Linked DNA regions of Homo sapiens: region 2 is linked to region 1. The links are contacts of gene promoters, found by promoter capture Hi-C in human tissues and cell types (Jung and others, 2019). All regions are on one chromosome and are shown on one strand. Each heading gives the region's core, a stretch centred on a gene start or on the middle of the fragment in contact. The rest is flanking DNA. Distances are from core to core; before and after follow the strand shown. Region 1 holds the start of PITX3 (paired like homeodomain 3). Region 2 holds the start of C10orf95 (chromosome 10 open reading frame 95).

Evidence for each region. Contacts are between HindIII fragments. The study calls those that stand out against the background at their distance.
Region 2: a contact is called between the fragment with the promoter of C10orf95 here and the fragment with the promoter of PITX3 in region 1, in 2 of the 25 tissues and cell types used here (aorta and heart right ventricle).

Annotation. Positions count from the first base shown.
Region 1 is chr10:102,240,228-102,245,003 of GRCh38, forward strand. It overlaps PITX3 (paired like homeodomain 3), which reads right to left and starts at 1,285. Exons shown (of 4, transcript NM_005029.4): 1 at 1,106-1,285. It also overlaps a transcript of GBF1 not described here. RefSeq lists a silencer at 1,147-1,436. The HindIII fragment of the contact is 21,724 bases long and covers 1-4,776 here.
Region 2 is chr10:102,450,074-102,455,164 of GRCh38, forward strand. C10orf95 (chromosome 10 open reading frame 95) reads right to left here and starts at 1,470. Exons shown (of 2, transcript NM_001363580.1): 1 at 1,313-1,470; 2 at 1-1,074. The coding sequence starts at 1,020. The coding sequence ends at 379. C10orf95-AS1 (C10orf95 antisense RNA 1) reads left to right here. Exons shown (of 3, transcript NR_038938.1): 2 at 114-257. RefSeq lists silencers at 305-384, 425-914 and enhancers at 1,437-2,119, 4,308-4,896, 4,897-5,091. The HindIII fragment of the contact is 10,367 bases long and covers 1-5,091 here.

The DNA of each region.
Region 1 (4,776 bases), core at 35-2,534:
TTTCCCATTGCCTTTTGTCACCTATTCCTTCCTTTCCTGGTCTTGATTCCCACTAGCAGGCTCCTCATTGGCCTTCTGTCCTCAAATTTGGATTCTGGAAGTACAGAGTGATGCTCTGATCTATTCTGAATTGAAGGGGGCATGTGTCCCAGCCCACCTCACCCCAAGGCCAGGTTGTAGCCTTTACTCTCGCTCCCTGCTCACAGCTTCGCAGCCCGAAGGAGCTGAAACAAGTTTGCAAAGTGTGAGCTGGGATTTGAGGTGACCCACCGCAGCCGACCCCATCGCACACGCAGCAGCTGGGCAGGCGCTGCTGGGTAGACGGACATGCCACCCAGCCAGGGACATTCTGTCCGCCACTGCCAGACACAACTCCCGCTCCGGAGAGACCCACTTCGCTACCCGGACATTCTGTCCGCTCCGAGCCCCATGCACCGCGGACATTCTGTCCGATTCTGAGGCGGCCTCAAGTCAGGACCCTTCTGGGCCCAGACACCCCAAGCCAGATCCACTATACCCGCCGCCTGGTCACTCTGATCCGCACAGCGGCCATCTGACTCAGTCGCGGCCGGGCTCTCACAACACAGCTCCTATTCCAACTGCGGAGCAGCTGGGAAGAGAAGCGTGTGCGACCAGGCGCACCCCGGCTCCCAGCCCCAGGAGTCTGAGCCTAGGCCGAGGGGCATCGGGCGCCGTCAACTGCCCCCACACTGGGGGCCGCCCCGCCAGCTCCCCCGCTGGCCAGGGCCTCTGTAACCCCTTTCGCTCCCTGGCCGCCTGCCCCGTGCCCTGGGATTCCAGGGCGCTTTCTGGTAATGGTTTCCAGACTCCCTACTCCCTGCCTCGCGAAGCCCCTATCCTGGTTTCAAGTCTCCGGCTTCGTTCCGGATCCTCTGAGTCTCCCCCTTCCCTATCCCCTGGTTCTTACCCTGAGTTTCCCTTTTCCCAAGTCCTGGCCCCAGGTCTGCAGTCCGCCCTCCCATTCTCGACCTGTTCCCAAGGCACCGGAGTTCAGCTGCCCCAGGTCTCGTTTTAGGGATTCCAAGGTCCAGCAATAGCTCCTCGGCCCCATGAGCCCCTGTCCTTAGAATGGTCAAACACTCACAGTGCGTCCTGCAACAGGCAGACTCCCAGTAGCGGCGGCTGCGGCGGCGATCTAGAGGGCAGGCAGGGGCCAGGGGCCGGGCACCCGGCCGGAGTGGGGGCCGCCCCCCTGCTCCCGGGCCGCCTCTCCGCTCGGGCGCTCCTGGACTCTCGGAGGGAGTGAGCCTCACCGCGTACTGCCACCCCCAGCCGGCGCCCATTCACTTTATGGCAGACCAGGGCGCCCCCAGCCCGCCGCGGCGAGCCGCGCGCGTCAGGCCCCGCCCCTTTCCAGCTGCCCTGCTGGGGCTCCGCCCTTTCCAGCTGTGGATCTCCAGGCCCCGCCTTTGAGGGAGGGGTCTGGCCGGCGAGACGCCAAGAACCCCGCCCTCTGGCCAATCAGAAGCGCTCTTCAGCAACTCGGCCGCGCCCCTCCCCACGTGGCAGAGACCGCGCTCCGGCTAGGACGCTTAGGCAGAGCCAAGTGGGCGAGAGTAGAGTGGTCCCGGTAGCCACGGGTAAAAGGGATCGGCTGGCAGCGAAGTGGGTTGGGCCGCTACCCCGAGGAAAGTGGATCGGCGCCAGGTGGGAAGGCGCACGGGGCCGCCGGGTCTCAGCGCTCAGACTTCTCTGCCACTCAAGTTTCGCCGATTTTCTCCACTTGTCGCTGTCCGTCTCTCCTCCCTTTTGTCTCTGTTCCAATCCTCCCACGTCTCGCCTTTCTTTCCTCTTCTTTCTCCTCAGCCGCTTCGCTCCTGCTGTTTACCATTCTCCTTCCTCTGCCACTTTAAAAGACTCATTTCTCTTTCTCTCTGCTCCTCTTTCCTCATATCTTTCCTCTTCTTCATTTCCCCCTTCTTCTCCAAGGAAGGTGACTTCGTGGAGACAGCAGGGTTTGGAATGATACAAACCAAAGTAGTATTCCAACGCTGCCACGAACTGCACCATCACTGAGTGAACTTGGACGAGTAACTATCATCTCCCTCCCCGCGCAAAACAATTAAGAGGAGGTTCCTGCTGGATCTCAGGGCTTGGGCTGGGCACTCCAAAGGCATTGCCTTTCAGTCTGTACCCTTGTCTTGCTTAGGCTGTGCTCTCCCTCCTTCAGCAGGGCTGGTTTCCCGCTGGTGGTACCAGGTTAAGTCCTGTGGGCAAGGTGTGGCCTTGGTGCCTGCTGGTTAGGAATTTGCAAGGGACAGGACAGATGACCAAGGAACATCCTGGCAGACTGTGACTTCGGCCCTCTCTGACTTAGGCCTCAATTTCCAGGAAACAGGCTCCTTCTCTTCTCCCAGTTAGGCTATGTTGCTTGGGTGCTCCGAAGAGCCTAAGCCCAGGCCAAACACTGTGGCTCATGCCTGTAATCCCAGCACTTTGGGAGGCCGAGGCGGGCGGATCACAAGGTCAGGAGATTGAGACCACCCTGGCTAACACGGTGAAACCCCATCTCTACTAAAAAATACAAAAAATTAGCCGGGCTTGGTGGCGGGTGCCTGTAGTCTCAGCTACTGGGGAGGCTGAGGAAGAAGAATGGCGTGAACCCAGGAGGCAGAGCTTGCAGTGAGCTGAGATCGCGCCACTGCACTCCAGACTGGGCGACAGAGCAAGACTCTGTCTCAAAAAAAAAAAAAAAAAAGAGCCTAAGCCCAGTCACACAATATGCCCCTAAGGCAAATCTGAGCAGTCATGTCTTGACTGTTCAGTGACTCCCATTGCCCTTAGGATAAAGGTCAAGCTCCCTAGCCTGGCATACAAGACCTTCAGGACCTGACCTTGTCTTCATCTCCAATTTCCTAGTAGTGTCCTGCACACCTCTGGCCCTTCCTGTGAAAGTAACCCATCTTTATATTGTCAATTCCTACTCCTCCAATGTTCCACTCAAGTCTTATTTTCTCTGGGAAGCCTTTTCTGAACTCTCAGTTTAGCCCCTTGCTCTCATGACCCTCAGTGTATACCTTCTATTACACCACCCACCATATTGAAGGGATCAGCTTATGTGTTGTCTGCTATGATAATAAAATTTAGGAGGGTAAGGACCATGTCTGTTATTCCCAGGCATAATGTAGAATCTCAATAAATGTCACACTGAAATCTATGAGGAAGATGTTCTGCCTGGTAAGATGATGATTAGTGGTTAGGAGGGACTAGGGAATTGTCATCTCTCTCCTCCCCATCTCTATTGCACAATCACATGCTTTTAGAATGATGAATTTCTGGAGGTATGTAGAAGTAGATATTGGCGAGCAGAAATTTTTGGCCCACTTAGAGGATTTTCCAATCGGCTTTCCAGGACCTCTCAATCTGAGACAGGCCCAGGACACCAACTCTCAGTTTTCAAATGAAGAGGAAAATGGCTTTGAGGTAATGTGGAAAGAGGTGCTATGATGGTATATCCTCTTTCCCTGACTCTCTTTGGGTGATAGAGGCTAGATCCTCAGCTGGACCCACCGACCAGAAGCCCAATGTGCAGGTGTAGGAAGTTACTGAGGGGTTCTTCACGTCTGATATCTGATGGGTGCTTTACACTAGAGCATCGTGGCCAGGTGTGGTGGCTCACACCTGTAATCTCAACACTTTGGGAGGCTGAGGCGGGTGGATCACCTGAGGTCAGGAGTTCGAGACCAGCCTGTCCAACATGGTGAAACCCCATCTCTACTAAAAATACAAAAATTAGCCTGGTGTGGTGGCAGATGCCTGTAATCCCAGCTACTTGGGAGGCTGAGGCAGGAGAATCACTTGAACCCAGGAGGTGGAGGTTGCAGTGAGCCAAGATCACAGCACTGCACTCCATCCTGGATGACAAAGCAAGACTCTCTCAAAACAAACAAACAAACAAAAGACAAAAAAACAAAACAAAACAAAAAAATAGCGCATCGTAGCACACGGATGGTCTTTGGATGTCTGGTTTTGAGACTACTTTCCTATGTGGTTAGTTATAGAGCTTCCCTGGACTTGGGTCGTCCATAATTGGGAGGATGTATGGAAAGAATTAGGTATTTTTTTTTCACTGCCTCCCAGCAGCTTCTCCAGGTCTGCAGGGACACTGGGGCTCTAGTGTCCCAAATAGGCTGGGAATTTCATGATTCAGTCTCCTAGGAGAAAACCCATCCTCTTGTCCTCTTCTCACGCATTCTCACTTCCAGGTAATACAGGTAATTCTAAATAGCTTAGTAACCTCTATCATCTCTTGCAAGGGGAGGAGGCAGCTGGGGGCAAGACAGTGAAAACAGGTGGGCATCCAACCCTCAGGCCCCTTAGCGTTTCTAAGGCAAACAAGAAAGACTTCTGTTTCCTATCACTGATGAGGTGGGCTAAGCTGCGTATTTAGCCTGGTGGATAAGGCCCGTCAAAGGCTTGGTATGAAAGGCAGACCGGGAGTCAAAGCCCGATATACTAAGGCATAAGAGGTGACAAAAGGCGATGAAAAGAGTTGGCCTGGGGGTGAGGAGACCCAGGGGTTCGTCTCTCTGCTCTGCTATTTACTAATTATGTGAACATGGGCCCAGCCTTCCACCCTGGGGCTGTTTCCTATAATGTAAAATGAAGAGACTTAAATTAGATATCCAGGGCTTCTGCTACGTCCCATTTTCTCTATTTCTGGATGATGGGAGTGGGGCAGAGGACGCTGAAACAGAGTTGGGACGTGACAGACATAACTGTGAGAAGCCACGACAGGGAAGGTGGACAAGAGGG
Region 2 (5,091 bases), core at 220-2,719, 210 kb after region 1:
AGAGGAAGGGAAAGTTGGGGCTTACTGCAGGGCAAGCTCCTTAGGAGAAGGTGGGGAGGAGGAAGGAGGGAGGTCCAGGCCCTTCTTCCATCCCACGTCCTCCACTTCCCAAGGTGCAAGAAGAAAAGAGGTACAGAACACCCAGAGGTGCCCTCGATTCCGTCTTGCACTTGCCCTTCTCCCACCGTCCAGCAATAAAGCGAGAGAAACAAGTGCAGGAAACTGGCCGGCAGTCATGGGAGAAGCCAAAAAGACAGGTGAGCAGCGCGTCCGCCTCCCGCGCACAGGTGAGGGCTCACTTCTGCCTGTCGGCGGCGGCACACACAGGAAAGAGCCAAGCGCGTGCACGCGGGCCCGCCCCTAGGCCTTGCGGCGGCTTCAGCTCAGGCCCTTGCTCTTCCTGGGGCGGCCGCGCTCCGCGGCTTCCCGGGCTGGGCTGCTGTCGCCGCTGTCGGGCCGGCGCCGCACGCGCCACTCCACGCGGTGGTCGGGCTCGAGCACGCGCGGCGTCGCCTGCAGCAGGAACTGGCCGCGGCGCTGGGTGACGCGCACGTCGGCGCGGGGGTAGGTGCCGTACGCGCGCCGCAGCTCCCGGCGCACGAAGTCCGGTAGCTGCAGAGGGGGGCCCCGCGCGCGCTCCACGCGGCCCCAGCGCAGCTCGGTTTGCAGGCTCCCGCCCTCCGGCCACGGCGCCCAGCTCTCGGCCACCGCCGCGGGCGCCTGCAGCGACAGTCCCGAGATGCCGGCGGCGGCGCAGGGCCGGCGCAGGGTCGTGGCGTAGGCCGGAGGGCAGGCCCACCAGGGCGGCGCGGCCTCGGGTGGCGCGGCGGGGCCGTAGAAGCGGTGGTATTCCCGTGGGGCCGCCCACTCGCCCGCATGCAGGCTCCCGGGCCGGCTGCGGAAGCTGTGGGCCTGGACTGGGGGTAGCAGCAGAGGGGCGGCCAGGTAGGTGCAGGTGAGCAGCTGCGGCGGCGGCGGCCAGACGCCCTGTTTGGGCGGCGGCCAGCTGTACACATACATGGTCGGCCCCCCAGGCGGCTGCTGTTCTTACTGGGGGCTCCTGCGGATCCAGACCTGCGGCGGAGGAAGGGATATGTAGACAGACTTTCTACTTAACCGCCTCCTGTCCCTGTGGGCCGGTTCCCCGGGACGCCGGTTCATGGCTTTGGGGGAATTCATCCCAAATCGAACATTCAGCTCCCCGCCTAGCCTCTTGTCCCAAGGTCGGGCAGAGCCTCAGGCTCCCAGCAGACAATAAGGAGCCTTTTCAAGCCCTCCGCCGGGATGCTCTTCCCAGTGACTCCCCACTCACTTGTCTCCTTCAGCCTTGGGGAGCCGGCGGGATCCAGAGCGGGGCTCCTCTCCGCACTTTGTAGCTGCGTTGCTCCGCTCCATGCCCTGCCTCAGCCACTCCTCCTGGTTACCAGGCAAAAGGAAACACCTTGAGCTGGCCAGGAGCTACCAGCGTCTGTCTACACCTGGGTGAGCCGTACTGGTCGTAGTGGCCCCACCCTACAAGGATGCCCTTCCTACAGTATTACTGATGGCTGTCTAATCCGGTTAGCTCCCAGTCACTACACCCCAGCCTCCCAGCGCCTGCAGGTGGATTGGGTTATCCTCACATTTGAGTGAAACTCCTGCACACCAGACACTGAATCGAGTTGTCTGGGAGCATCTAACTGCAAGTTATGTCGATCCGAGGAAGGGGGGTACTGATATTACCCCTGCTTTCCATAGCAAAAAGCTGCTTGCCTCACAGTTGGTGTCCAGTGTATTCAGTGACTGGAGCTTATGTAGGTTAAATAACTCATCCCAACTCACACAGCTGGCTATAGTAAGGGCAAAATTCAACCCCCAGTCTGTCTCAAGACTCAGGCTCACAATGTTGGTCTTATTGCCCACCTGTGCAGGAGCTTCTCGCAGACTGTCTCGAAGTCCTCCCACTCTAGAATGTTACATAAGCGCTTTAATTTTTTTTTTTTTTTTTTTGAGATGGGGTCTTGCTCTGTTGTCTAGGCTGGAGTGCAGCGGCATGATCTCGGCACACTGCAGCCACCGTCTTCCAGGTTCAAGCGATTCTCCCACCTCAGCCTCCCGAGGAGCTGGGATTACAGGTGCACCACCACCTCCTGCTAATTTTTGTAGTTTTAGTAGAGACGGGGTTTTCACTATGTTGGCCAGGCTGGTCCCGAACTCCTGACCTCAGGTGATCCACCCTCCTTGGCTTCCCAAAGTGCTGATTTTACAGGCGTGAGCCATCGCGCCCGGCTGCTTTAAATTCTTTTCTTCCTTTTTTTTTTTTTTTTTTTTGAGACAGAATCTTGCTCTGTCGCCCAGGCTGGAGTGCGGTGGCACGATCTTGGCTTACTGCAACCTCTGCCTCCCAGCTTCAAGCGATTCTTCTGCCTCAGCCTCCCAAGTAGGTGGGACTACAGGCGTGCCCCACCACACCTGGCTAATTTTTGTATTTTTTAGTAGAAATGGCGTTTCACCATATTGGCCAGACTGGTCTTGAACTCCCAACCCCGTGATCCGCCCACCTTGGCCTCCCAAAGTTTTGGGATTACAAGGATGAGCTACTGCGCCCGGCCTACTTTAAATTCTTAATAGCTATGTGAAGTGCATAGTGATGTCATGCTCTTTTAGTAGATAAGGAACCAGAGGCTCAGAGAAGTTAGGCCACTGTCCCAGGTTCACACAGCCTGTAAGTACCACAGTGGAATTTGAACCCAGTCCAACTGATGTCAAAGGCCAGAAGCCATTTGAGTGAAGGCAGGAAGATTGCTTCATCCAGATGGGGTGAGCCCTGTCTGAGTTCCAGTCCCTTCTGGTGTGGGTCACAACCCCTGCACCTCTTCCTTCTCCAGTGGGGAGAGTGGTAGTTATGGATGATTAAAACTGAAACCGTCTCCCAGCTGCAGGGCTGCCATGTTGCCACACTTTCCTTCCCCATCTCCTGTTGACTGAAGCAGTATCACCAGCAGCCCTGACAGAAAGGTTCTTCTGGGTTCTCAGTATCCCTCAAAACTCAGCTACCCTCTGGTGGTGGCCACCATTTGGTGACTCACCCTGGTGATGTCATGCTATTCGTGACTGAGCCACTGCTCCAAGTCTTAATTCGGGCCAGTCCTTTTGAAGGCAGGTGCTGGGGCTGGGCTGTGGATGGAAAAAAGGGGCCTGGTTAGGGTTTCATTTGGACTCTAACACTGTCATAGAAACCCAGATTCAGGCTGGTGAACCTGATGCACAGCTAAGGCCAAACAGTGGGAGATAGAGAAAGGTTTATTTGATTTGGCCAAAGTGAGAAGGCGGGAGAGCAAATCTCTCAAATCCCTATTAACAGAAAAAAAGCAGCAGGGTGGCTTACACCTGTAATCCTAGCACTTTTGGAGGCTGAGGCAGGTGGACTGCTTGAGCTCAGGAGTTCGAGATCAGCCTGGGCAACATGGTGAAACACCGGCTCTACAAAAAAAAAAAAAAAAAAAAACCAGGCATGGTGGCATGTGCCTGTAGTTCCAGTTACTTGGGGCGCTGAGGCAGAATGATCACTTGAGCCCAGGAGGTCAAGCCTGCAGTGAGCTGTGTTCATACCACTGCACTACAGCCTGGGTGGCAGACTGAGAGCCTGTCTCAAAAAGCAGCAGGGAGTTTTTAATGTGACTAAGGAGTGACGGAGGGGGCATTTCAGGGAACCCAGGGTAAAAGTCTGTGTTTCTTCAGTCTCAGATAACCCCTTGAGCCACCAGACTTCTGGGCATCAGCAGCTGGTCACAACGTCCTTCAAGGCATTCATTCCTGCAATTTTTTTTTTTTGAGACGGAGTTTTGCTCTTTTTGTCCAGGCTGGAGTGCAATGGCGGGGATCTTGGCTCACTGCAACCTCCGCCTCCCGGGTTCAAGCCATTCTCCTATCTCAGCCTCCCAAGTAGCTGGGATTACAGGCATGCGCCACCATGGCCAGCTAATTTTTTGTATTTTTAGTAGAGACGGAGTTTCACCATATTGGTCAGCTGGTCTTGAACTCCAGACCTCGGGTGATTCACCCACCTCGGCCTCCCAAAGTGCTGGGATTACAGGCATGAGCCACTGTGCCTGGCCTGCAATTTTTTTTCATGACCACAAAGTTACCTCTTCCTGCTTGACCAAGAAACAGCACATCAGCAGTTTATATTGTGGGAACAAGGAATATTGGGCAAAAAGTGAGTGGTTAGCACGTGCAAGCAAGCATCGGCCTGATCAGAATTTTTTTTCTTTTTTTTTTTCTTTTTGACAAGGTCTCATTCTGTCACCCAGGCTGGAGTGTGAAGGGGTGGGTTGCCCCTCCACACCTGTGGGTTTTTCTCGTTAGGTGGAACGAGAGACTTGGAAAAGAAAGAGACACAGAGACAAAGTATAGAGAAAGAAAAAAGGGGGCCCATGGGACCGGCGTTCAGCACACGGAGGATCCCCCCAGCCTCTGAGTTCCCTTAGTATTTATTGATCATTATTGGGTGTTTCTCGGAGAGGGGGATGTGGCAGGGTCATAGGATAATAGTGGAGAGAAGGTCAGCAGGTAAACAGTGAACAAAGGTCTCTGCATCATAAGGTAAAGAATTAAGTGCTGTGCTTTAGATATGTATACACATAAACATCCCAATGCCTTGAAGAGCAGTATTGCTGCCCGCATGTCCCACCTCCAGCCCTAAGGCGGTTTTCCCCTATCTCAGCAGATGGAATATACAATCGGGTTTTACACCGAGACGTTCCATTGCCCAGGGATGAGCAGGAGACAGATGCCTTCCTCTTGTCTGAACTGCAACGAGGCATTCCTTCCTCTTTTACTAATCCTCCTCAGCACAGACCCTTTACGGGTGTCGGGCTGGGGGACGGTCAGGTCTTTCCCTTCCCACGAGGCCAAATCTCAGGCTATCACATAGGGAGAAACCTTGGACAATACCTGGCTTTCCTAGGCAGAGGTCCCTGCGGCCTTCCGCAGTGTTTTTTGTCCCTGGGTACTTGAGATTAGGGAGTGGTGATGACTCTTAACAAGCATGCTGCCTTCAAGCATTTGTTTAACAAAGCACACCTTGCACAGCCCTTAAGCCATTTAACC